Regions from separate parts of the Homo sapiens genome. Here all the other regions are linked to region 1. Evidence: promoter capture Hi-C in human tissues and cell types (Jung and others, 2019). All regions are on one chromosome and are shown on one strand. Each heading gives the region's core, a stretch centred on a gene start or on the middle of the fragment in contact. The rest is flanking DNA. Distances are from core to core; before and after follow the strand shown. Region 1 holds the start of PAIP2 (poly(A) binding protein interacting protein 2). Region 2 overlaps SIL1 (SIL1 nucleotide exchange factor). Region 3 overlaps SIL1 (SIL1 nucleotide exchange factor). Region 4 overlaps SIL1 (SIL1 nucleotide exchange factor).

What was found. The method cuts DNA at HindIII sites, captures the fragments that hold promoters and counts their contacts. A contact is called where the count stands out against the background at its distance.
Region 2: a fragment that was not itself captured here is called in contact with the fragment with the promoter of PAIP2 in region 1 in 4 of the 25 tissues and cell types used here (IMR-90 fibroblasts, aorta, dorsolateral prefrontal cortex and 1 more).
Region 3: a contact is called between a fragment that was not itself captured here and the fragment with the promoter of PAIP2 in region 1, in 2 of the 25 tissues and cell types used here (bladder and dorsolateral prefrontal cortex).
Region 4: a contact is called between a fragment that was not itself captured here and the fragment with the promoter of PAIP2 in region 1, in 2 of the 25 tissues and cell types used here (dorsolateral prefrontal cortex and hippocampus).

Annotation. Positions count from the first base shown.
Region 1 is chr5:139,340,580-139,343,279 of GRCh38, reverse strand. It overlaps PAIP2 (poly(A) binding protein interacting protein 2), which reads right to left and starts at 1,426. Exons shown (of 4, transcript NM_016480.5): 1 at 1,300-1,426. The HindIII fragment of the contact is 8,924 bases long and covers 1-2,700 here.
Region 2 is chr5:138,977,250-138,980,078 of GRCh38, reverse strand. The region is part of intron 7 of SIL1 (SIL1 nucleotide exchange factor); the gene reads left to right. Among named protein-coding and RNA genes, the nearest start is that of LRRTM2, 100 kb to the right of the region's middle. The HindIII fragment of the contact is 4,436 bases long and covers 1-2,829 here.
Region 3 is chr5:138,960,795-138,963,513 of GRCh38, reverse strand. All of the region lies in intron 7 of SIL1 (SIL1 nucleotide exchange factor), which reads left to right. It overlaps LOC124901079 (a long non-coding RNA gene), which reads right to left. Exons shown (of 2, transcript XR_007058954.1): 1 at 1,293-2,719; 2 at 1-1,180. Among named protein-coding and RNA genes, the nearest start is that of LRRTM2, 87 kb to the right of the region's middle. The HindIII fragment of the contact is 4,395 bases long and covers 1-2,719 here.
Region 4 is chr5:139,069,608-139,072,307 of GRCh38, reverse strand. All of the region lies in intron 3 of SIL1 (SIL1 nucleotide exchange factor), which reads left to right. Among named protein-coding and RNA genes, the nearest start is that of SIL1, 130 kb to the left of the region's middle. The HindIII fragment of the contact is 3,786 bases long and covers 1-2,700 here.

The DNA of each region.
Region 1 (2,700 bases), core at 177-2,676:
GTGATTTTGTGTGTGTGTGAAAAAGTTTTATTCAAGTTCACAACTGACAAGTAGTATAAACAGACTAATTTTCCCCAAATATCCTGTCTTTCACTAACTGGAAACAGAATCACAAAAGCAAATAGTGGAGTCTCATTAAAAATTATTGTAGAGAACTTTTACTTATTGCAAACACAACCTACGCCAGAAGAAATTTCAAAAGCGACTTAATGAAAATATAAACCAACACCTGATCTAACTGTGCTAATGAAATCTGTGAAAAAACAATGCCACCACGTTTCAACATTAGCCAGCACACCCAACATGAACATCTACTTTCCGTTGAAATAAACGTCAAAGGCTGTCAGCTGCTACACCTTCCAAGGCAAATTGGAAGCCAAATTCTTTCTAGAGTTTGGGGTTTTTATGAGTTGATACGGGTGCCAAATCAGGGAAAAAAGAAACAAAAGGAAGCAGGTAAGACCCCTTTTAGGAGTCCCTAAAAAATATCACTGCTGGCTGCTGCAACAAATGTTTTGAAGACCTAAGTTCACCACAAGCCTTATTTATTTCTGGTGGCGATGGTGGGGAAGGAGGAGAGTAAGCACAGAAAATTATTAAAAGGTAAGAGGACCTTAAAGTTCATCTAACTCAACGCCCTCCTAGGGTAAGGGTTCCCAGTACCCCAAAGGTTCTTTTTTCCAGGGCATGAGCTGCAATACAACCAAAAATAAGGGGTAGCGATGGCGAAGAAACGGGAGAAAGACGATCTTCTGATCAGGCCCGTCGACGGTTGCAGCGTTCCCCCAAGACGCCAAGAGCCCGCCAGTCCCTCCGCCCCTCTCTCCCCAAACCCCAGCCTCGGCTGAGGCGCGCACGCGCAGCAAGTAGGGGCTGCGCGTGGCGACGCGCAGGCGTAAAGTGGGTAGAAACAATAAGCTTTGTTGCCGAGGCGGTGGGAGGGGGGCAGGGGAAAGGGTACCCGGCGGAGGGATAAAGGACCGGGAGAATGAGGAACAGGAGAAAGTGCTATCCCGGCAACCCTCGCGCCACTGAGGACCCGGATAGAGAGCTGCGAGATCCAAATCATTAATAATGACAATGAAAAAAAAGCGACGGCCATGTCTCGGAGAAGACAGAGACGAAGTCGGCCCAAGCTCATCCCTCAGACTTGGTGGAAAGAGGCAATGAACAACGGAGGCCGCAATGGACTCGGTGGCCAACCACCCAGGGAACCCTTTAGGCCCCTCTGCCGTCGCCGACTTGCTGTCCCTCGACCTCCGCACCCCTGTCGCCACTCTGCCCGAGAGGACCCCTCACCCAATGCACAGCAGCGGGGACGGCAGCCAACGAATCCTGTCGGCCTCCGCGGATCTCCACAGGCAGCGCCGCTCCCCCGCTCGACGTGCGCTTCGCCCGCCGCCTCCCTTCTCCAGTCCAAACAAACACCCCAGCCCGGAAGTGACTTCACTTCCGTCGCCGCCAACCCCGCCCTCTTGTTCTGTCAGCTCTGCCCTCCGAAGCCACTAGAGAGCGCGCGCGAGAACGCGCGACCCCGAAGTCTGTCTCCAAGGCTGCACACGTGTGCACGCGCAGCAGCCTTTCCAGCGCGCCCCTACGGCCGGCTGCCGGGTGTAGCAGGAACGCTGTCGCACGTTCTCTCTGGAAGGCAGGAATGGGGGCGTACCACTGTTCCCACACCCGCCCATCTTCCGAGAATGATGATATGCAATGAGTGAGGCAGCTGGGGACTGAAGAGCACCCTGACAAGATACACAGGCGTGGACTTTCACAGACATCACACACCCCCCCAAAAACGTAATATTTAGGTAATGACATAGCACACACATACCCATACACACCCCAAGAATGATACACAATGTCACACAAACAGCGACATGCACCGAGTCACGTCAAGATCCTGACACAGAAAAATAATAAACTAAGGGAAATCACAGAGGCGTACTAAATGATATGCAAACATCCGCACTCAGACATGTGCAGGCACAAAAACACACTTTTTGAAGCTGGATGCAAACGCAAAATACAAATACATGTGCAACTTCTTTGTGGCTAAAGGAGGAAATGCCCTGTCCACACAGGATAGAAAAGTGTGACCTCCGGGTTCAAGAATTTTGTAGTCCGTGATCCTGGGTGCACTGGCCCCATAGTTATTCTTACCCATGCTTCCTTCCTGTCATCGTTGACAAGCCCCAAGATATATTTCTAGTGACACTAAGCAATGTAAAGAAGAGAGTATGTTTTTGTTTTTTTGTTTTGTTTTGTTTTTTTGAGGCGGAGTCTGGCTCTCTTGCCCAGGCTGGAGTGCAGTGGCGCCATCTCGGCTCACTGCAACCTCCGCCTCCCGGGTTCAAGAGATTCTCCTGCCACAGCCTCCCAAGTAGCTGGGACTACAGGCGCACGCCAGCACACCCGGCCAATTTTTGTACTTTTAGTAGAGATAGGGGTTTCACCGTGTTGGCCAGGATGGTCTCGATCTCCTGACCTCGTGATCCACCCGCCTCCGCCTCTCAAAGTGCTAGGATTACAGGTGTGAGCCACCGCACCCGGCCGAGAGTATGTGTTTTACAAATCTGGATGTTCAAATGTGTAGATACTATCTTTGAAAAAGGGACACAAACTAATTTCTTCCCTTTGGAGAGGGCAAATGACCGACTAGGAAATGGGTGCAAATAACTATCCTTTTCTCCTGAAAAATTT
Region 2 (2,829 bases), core at 128-2,627, 360 kb after region 1:
AGAGCCTAGAGCCCCCTTTGGGGGTGTTGCTGTGTGCTGAGGATTCTGGAAAGAACCTCACCCCTGTGACTAGGCCCTTTTGCCTGAGTTGTCCCCATTCCTGAGCCATTGTTCTGTCTTTTGCTCACCCGGGTGGCTGAAAAGACAGGATGACTACCTGAGCATTTCAGTCAGGGAGTTTGTTATTGATGATGCCGTTCACTTCTCAGGAGTGTTGCATCTAACACTGCCCCCATGCTCTTGTGGAAGACCGCATTCTCTCACTCTTTACAGCTCCTCTAGACAGAAATGATTCCAGATATCACTGTGTTCACCCCTGCCTCCTGGCAAGGAGCCCTCTCTCATAGCCCATCCCAACACTCATCTCCTCTGGCCCTAAAAATTCATACATTCATTAAAAAATATGAATTAGCCGGGTATGGTGACTTGTGCTGGTAGTCCCAGCTACTTAGGAGGCTGAGGTGGGAGGATCACTTGAGCCTGGGAGGCAGAGGCTGCAGTAAGTCGAGATCACGCCACTGCACTCCAGCCTGTGTGACAGAGTGAGACCCTGTCTCGAAAAAAAATTATTTAAAAAAGTCATGACTACCTATTATGTGCCAGGCATTTTGCTAGACTGAGGATGTGGTGGTGAACAAGACAGATAGGTGTTTCTTTTTACATGTCAGAAGTTGATTTTTTAGTCAGTCAGTATGTCATCAAAATTAAATACTCTTGGCTGGGTGCTGTGGCTCACGCCTGTAATCCCAGCACTTTGGGAGGCCAAGGCGGGCAGATCATGAGGTCAGGAGATCGAGACCAGCCTGGCCAACATGGTGAAACCCCGTCTCTACTAAAAATACAGAAATTAGCTGGGCGTGGTGGTGCACTCCTGTTATCCCAGCTACTTGAGAGGCTGAGGCAGGAGAATCGCTTGAACCCGGGAGGCAGAGGTTTCAGTGAGCCGAGATCATGCACTGCACTCCAGCCTGGCGACAGAGCGAGACTCCTTCTCAAAAAAAAAATAAAATAAAATTAAATTAAATTAAATACTCTTGTGCTTCAAAGGATACCATCAAGAAAGTGAAAAGGAAAACCACCGAATGGGAGAAAATTTTTACAAGTCATATATCTGGTAAGGGACTTTTTATCTAGAATACCTAAAGAATGTTTGCAACTCAGCAACAGAAAACAACGTAATTAAAAACTCCTACAATTCAACAATAAAAAGACAACCCAATTAAAAAATAGGCAAAGGATCTGAATGGACAGCTGTCCAGACAAGATAATGCAAATGTGCAGTAAGTACAGGAAATGATGCTCAACATCATTAACTCCCAGGAAAATGCAAACCCAACCACAATGAGAGAACACTGTATACTCAAAAAGATAGATAATAACAAGTGTTGACAAGGATGTGGAGAAATTGGGACCCTCATATACTGCTAGTGGAAATGTAAATTGATCCAACCATTTTGAAAAACACTACTAGTTCTTCAAATAGTTAAACATAGAGTTATCATGTGATCCAGCAATTCCAATGCTAGGTGTGTACCCAAGAGAAGTGAAACCATATTCCACACAAAAACTTGTACATGAATGTGCATAGCCTCAATATTCATAACAGCCAAAAAGTGGAAACAACCCAAGTATCTGTTGACTGAGAAATGGGTAAATATAATGTAGTATATCCATACAATGGAATATTTAGCAATAAAAAGAAATGAAGTACTGATACATGTTATGAATGGATGAAACTTTTAAAAAGTCAGAGTGAAAAAAGCTAGTCACAAAGCACCACATACTGGATGATTCCATCTCTGTGGAATGTCTGGAATATTCAAATCTGTAGGGCCTAGTGCTGAGGGAGTGGGGGTTGGGGAGAGTTGCGGGGGGCACTAGTAATAGGTATGGGGGGGCAATGAAAATGCCTTAAAATTGTGATATGTTGCACAACTCTGTGAATACACAAAAAGCTATTGAGTTGTACACTTTAAATGGGTGAATTGTGTGGTATGTGAATTTTACCTCAATAAAGCATTTTTAAGTCAGTAACGTGTTATGAAGAAAATAAAATAGGATGATATAAGGTTCTTTAGATGAGTTAGTTACAGAGACTTTTCCAAAGAGATGTCATTCTGGCCTCAACTCAAATATAGATTGAGTCAGCCATATGTACATTAGGCCAAGGGTTTTCCAGGCAGCAGGAATAGCCGTTGCAAGGGTCCTGAGGTAGGGACAAGCTTGGCCAGTTGAGGAAGCAGCCAGAAGGTGAGTGTGGCTGGAATGGAGTGAGCTAAAGAAAGACTAAGAAGAGGTGAGGTTGGCGAAGTTGGCAGTGCACCTAGAGACCTAGGTGAACTAAATTTGGATTTTATTCTAAGGGTAGCAGGAAGCCACTGGTGCCATTTAATTAAGGGAGTAACAAGATCTGATTTACATTTTAAAAATGATCCCCTGGCTTGGCTCAGTGGCTCACACCTGTAATCCCAGCACTTTGGGAGGCCGAGGGAGGTAGATTGCTTGAGTCCAAGAGTTTGAGGCTGCAGTGAGCTATGATTGCACCACTGTGCTCCAGCCTGGGTGACAGAGCAAGACCTAGTGTCAAAAAGAAAAAAAGGAGGAAAAAAAAAAGATTCCTCTGATTGCTTTGCGGGAGAGAAGGAACTCTTCATGGTTTCAGACTACAGCACTGCCTACCTTGTTATCTTAAATCTCTGATAGTAGGAAGCTCTTCCTGGTATCTAGTTCAAGTCACCTCCTCTCATCAGGATTTTGGGTGGTAGATCTGATGGCCATGATAGTGCTTCATAACTGGGAAGATTATTGTTCCCCAGATTAGGATATAGA
Region 3 (2,719 bases), core at 66-2,565, 380 kb after region 1:
ATAGACCGTCCTACGATCATTGCCTTTTCTTTTGCTATTAAGAGATGGCTCATTCATAAACATTCCTACAGTTGTGTGGCAAACGCAAAATAGGCCCTGCGTGATTCCACTGGCTCTGATTGAGGAGATGATTTTTCACACAGTGAGATTTATCATGTTTATCAAGTTTATGACAGAACACAAGGAGGGTGAGGGGATGTGGAGGTTGGAGGGAGTGCAGATCTGAGTGAGGAAGGAAGCTCTTTCCTGAGCCTCAAAGGGCGGGTTGACAAGGTGTGTTGCCTATAAGCTTGGAGCAAGGATTGTGTGGGCCATTTCCTTGGATCCCCTCTTGCCCTGCAGGGTCTGGCCTCCTCCGCTCTCCCCCAGCCACCAGACATGGGGATAGTTATACCACCAACTGAGTATAGAAGACCTAAAATAACATCCTCTGTGTTCTCTAATAAAGTTGATAAATCTCAGTGTGTGAAAAATCTCCCGTATGTTTTAGCTTAAATTTTCTTCTGCTTAACCTTGTTACTCCTGCCTTGCCTCCCTCAGACTGCCTGAGACAATTACTCAGGGACATTCTTTGAATAATTAGAGGCTGCAGATAATTCTCTTTAGCCCGCTTTCTTCCATGTTCCCTACCCTGTGGTCTCCCTTTAGCCAGTTCTAATTAGCTGCTTTGATCCTTCCTCCCAATCTCTCCCTCTAGCTTGTTAATTACATTTCTCCCCCATGAATTCCTTCTGTACTGGCTTTGTCTATCCAGTCAGAGGAGCTGAGAATGGGAATCTAAGGCCACTCAGTGGGAGGTCTTCTTTGTCCCCCAACACAGATAGCTCCTCTCCCTTCTGAGAAGCCTGAAAACCCTGGCATTCTGTCTTAGCAGAAAAGTAAAAATAATAATTTTTGTTAAATGGTATATTATGATAAAACAGCTGTTATCCTAATGCTTGGCATTTGCCAGGAACTCTGGGTATGTTTATGTATATAAAATCACATTTCATCCCCGCAACAATCCCATGAGATAAATATTATTGTTATTAATCCCTGTTTTACAAATGCAGAAACTGAGGTACAGAGAGGCTTAGTAACTTACCTCAGTCACACAGCTGAAAACACTAGAATCTCGGACTTTCACCTAGGTCTCTCTGACTCCAGAGCAGCACTCAGTGTTTTGCTTCCTGGGTTTGGGCTTTTTGGTGAAGAGGAAAAAAAAAAAAATGGAAAAAGTCCAGGTCATTGGCTTTTAGCCCACCAAAAAACTAACCAACCAATCAACTCTGAGGTAATTGTCAACTCTTTACCCTCCGTGTAGAAGAGGCTTTCTCAATTGAAATTATAAAACTGGCACAGAAGCAAACTGGCGTGGTGCACGGGGTATCTGGGCAGTTGGAAATCTTCTAGAAAAAAAAAAGAAACCAATAAATTCTTCACTTGCTTTAATTCTTAATTCTCTTTTCTGACAGTTTTCTCTCTCAGGAGGTTAAGGAAGCAATAAGGAGAAGGGCCTCACTGAAATTATATTCTGAGCAACAAGAAGGATCTGTCTGGTAAAAAAAAAAAAAAAAAAAAAGTCTAGAGAACATCAGCAGAAAGTGACTGTGTTTGGAGAAGCTAAAAGGGGAAGGTAAAACTCTCTGCCTCTGAGTTTTAGGGAAAGTAAATTTCAGAGGGTCCAGGAAAAAGTAGATATGATGTCTGAACAGGAGCTTCAAAAGGAAAGATGACTTAGAGTTTGAAAAATGAAGTGTACTTAATAGAGTCACGAGTGATTACTGCAGGGAACAGGGAGCCACCTAAAGAGACCCACATGGCTTCAGGGGGCACAGTTCGAGCTGAGATTTTGTCTAGAGATGAAAAAGGGACCTGTAACCAAGAGCAAATAGAGAAGTGGATGCAACCTCCGAGAACAGTGTCAGGAGCACCAGATGGGTGAGACCTGGGAAACACTAAGAACAACAAAGGCGCCTGTGCAGCTACTGTTGAGAGTGAGAGGGATGGCAAGGAAGGCTTTAGGCCACCTGGTTCAATCAGGTGATTTAGCAGATGCCATAGAGGGCATCTCTGTCCTTACTGCTTATTCTGTTTGCCTCTGCCTTCTCTCTCAAGGAGAATGGCCTTCCTGCAGAAAGTAAAACAAACATAGAGTTAAGTGGAACTTGAGACCAGGAGTGTACAAAAAGTGTAAATGAACCACTGGCTTCTCCAAATTAGACAGGGTCTGAAAAATTAAATGCCAGACAGAAACTTAGGGACATCATCATCAAACTGTGTGCAGAAATCTTTATGGCATTATGGGGATTGGGAGAGGGGCAAGGAGACACAATGGGCAACTGTTCTGGTTTTCAAAATAACAGAGCAAGTTTTTGAGATGTGACTTAAGAGTATTTTTAAAGAAAAGAGGTCATTTCTTAGAGTTAGTGTGGGTTCCATAAAACCAGGTCTTGCTGGACTAGTTTAATGCTTAAGTCCTCCCTCCCCCATCCCTCCATATAGAAAAGTTTAACACATTCTACTTGATGAATTATTGAAAGTGGAGACACCCATGTAACCACCACCCAGATCCAGAAATGTAACATTATCAGTACCCCAGAAGACTGTCTCAAGTTCCTCCCAACTCTAATTTTCTTTTTCATAAGATTTGCCAGGCTGGCAGATTAGGCCGGTATAATAGACACAGAGGAAGTCTGCGTTTCAGGAAATCATTTGACAGAATCTCATAATAATCTAA
Region 4 (2,700 bases), core at 42-2,541, 270 kb after region 1:
AATAGTGTATGTTATTTATGACTGGTATTCTGAGTTATTTTTCATTTTAGAATGTATTAATATGTTTTAGGTATATAATTTATAATAGACCCCAATTATAACAGCATATTTTAAAGAAGCCCAAATGGACCCTTCCTATAATAAAAGATACCAAATGATTGGTTTGTTTTTTGCAGCTACCTCCCCTTTTTCTTTTTAAAATATATGCCACAGTTTTATACTTTTAATAGTTTTGAAGTAATTTATTTTGTGCCTAGAAAAGGAATTATGTATTTTTTCCATGAATGTGTCATGTTTTTAGCAACTTGTAATCCCAGAAAAATTAAATAAATAAAAATTTGCTTGCCAGGAGCGGTGGCTCATGACTGTAATCCCAGCACTTTGGGAGGCTGAGGCGGGGGGACCATGAGGTCAGGAGTTCAAGACCAGCCTGACCAAGATGGTGAAACCCCGTCTCTACTAAAAATACAAAAATTAGCCAGATTTGATGGTGGGTGCCTGCAATCCCAGCTACTTGAGAGGCTGAGGCAGAGAATCGCTTGAACCGGGAAGGTGGAGGTTGCAGTGAGCTGAGATCGCACCACTGCACTCCAGCCTGGGCGACAGAGTGAGACTCCGTCTCAAAAAAAAAAAAAAAAAAATGCTAATAATAAAAGGTATGAATGCTCACTATAAAAAAATCCTAATTATAGAAATGTATAATTTAGGAAGTACAAGTCCTTCTAAGTCCAGTTTCTTCACCAGAGATAACATATACTCCTTTAAGACTCTTTTTATTATAAAGTTAAACACAGATATAGAAAATTATACAAAATATGTAGCTTAATGAGTTATTACCAGGTGAAGTCACACCCAAGTCAGGAAATAGAACTTTGCCGAGCACTTCAGCAGGTCCCTCCAACTGTAATATTTCCCTCCTACCAAATGTAACCACTCTCCTGATTTTTACAATAATTGCTCCTTTGCATTTTCAAATAGTTTATGACTAAGTTTTGCACCCAAGACTATAGTGTTGCCCATTTAAGAAACGTTGTTATATCCTTTAAGTCTCTTTGAATCTACAGGTTACCTATCTATTCCCCACCCCCACCCCCTGCTTTTTTTTTTCTTCTTCTTCTTATAAATTGTCTGTTGAAGAGCTCAGGCCATTTCCCAGGCTAAATTTTGCTGATTTCATAAATGATGCAGTTCGGCATGTTTCTCCAACCTCTGTATTTCTTGCAAATTGTCAGCTGGATCCAGGGGCTCAATCGGACACAGGTTCCATTCCTTTGGGAAAACTATAGGCAGTTTTGTGCTCTTTCATTAGGAAGTGCTTAATGTCTGATTGATTCTCTTTTTGTGGGATTGCAAGAGGGTGATACTCAAATCTATCATTTCTTTTTTATTTTTAGCTGCACTACTTTTATAAAGAGGTATTTCCCCATATATATTATTTTGTTACTCAGTGGTAAAATTCATACAGGAAAGACAGGATAAATGTTTGGTTCTTTTTTCCTTATTTACCAGTTTTCAAGATAATGAGTTGATCCTCTGAAGATGACCAATTAAGATGTTTTTTTTCCCTTTACAAACTCACAGGTTCAAAGCATATTTTATGGGCTTTAATTCATTGTAATTATTACTTTTATTGAAGTTGAAATTGTTTGATTTTTGGTCAGTTGAAGGTTTTCAAATGAGTTCTTTTCATGTTACTCTAATAGTCTTTGATAGTTTTCTTGCTGTCTGGTTTGACAAGATATTCTAAGCTCGTCTTGTACATTTCCTTCCCAGGACTGGAATTAGCTGTTTCTCTAAGAAGTTTTAAGACTACATTCTGGCCATTAGGTCGCTCATTACTGCTGTGTTGGTCATTGTTTCTAGGCCTTTTCTGTTGACAAGAGATAGGAAATATATGTTATAATCCTCATACATTCAAGTGGGTACTGCCTATTCATATTCCGGCTGGCAGGGTTTTTATTTAATCTCTTCGATATTACATCTGCCTCTTTTTTTCCCACACCGAGAGTCCTGATTCTGGACACAGGGGATTATACAATTAGAATATGTAATAATTTTACTGATTTGATCTGTCTCATTTTGTACATGCAACAGTTTCAGAATGGCAGTAATACTATCCCTGATATGATTACTGAAAATAGTTTAAAACATTTTTTTGTGTGTGCTCTCATTGTTCTTAACCAGCTGTGTTGTATGTATATTCTCAGAGTAGCCATTATATACTTCCTTTTTAGCCCTTATTTAAGGCATTTATACAAATAACTATATATGTAATGTTTACCGCCGGTCTTACTTATTTTCATTGTCTGGGATGTATTTTCTAGTAAATTCTTCAGGAAGAGCCCATCGAAACAGTAATCTCTGTGTTTTTGTATGTTAACTTTGTCAGTGTTCTTTACATCCCAAAGCACTTTGGTAGGATATAAAATCCTTGGCTCACATTTTCTTTCTTTGAGTACTTCATCTTCTGCTGGCAGTAGGCTTTGCTGTTAAAAATGCTGATGACAATCTAATTTTCTTTATAAGTTACTTGCTGATTTTTGCTTATATGCCCAAGTGATCTTTCCTTTGCCTTTAAAATCCAATTATTTTACTAGAATATGCCTTACTGTTGGACATCCCTGGTCAGTATTCTTAGGTATACAGTGTGTTATTTCAATACATAGTTTTAAGTATTTTTTTCATTTCAGGAAAGCTTTC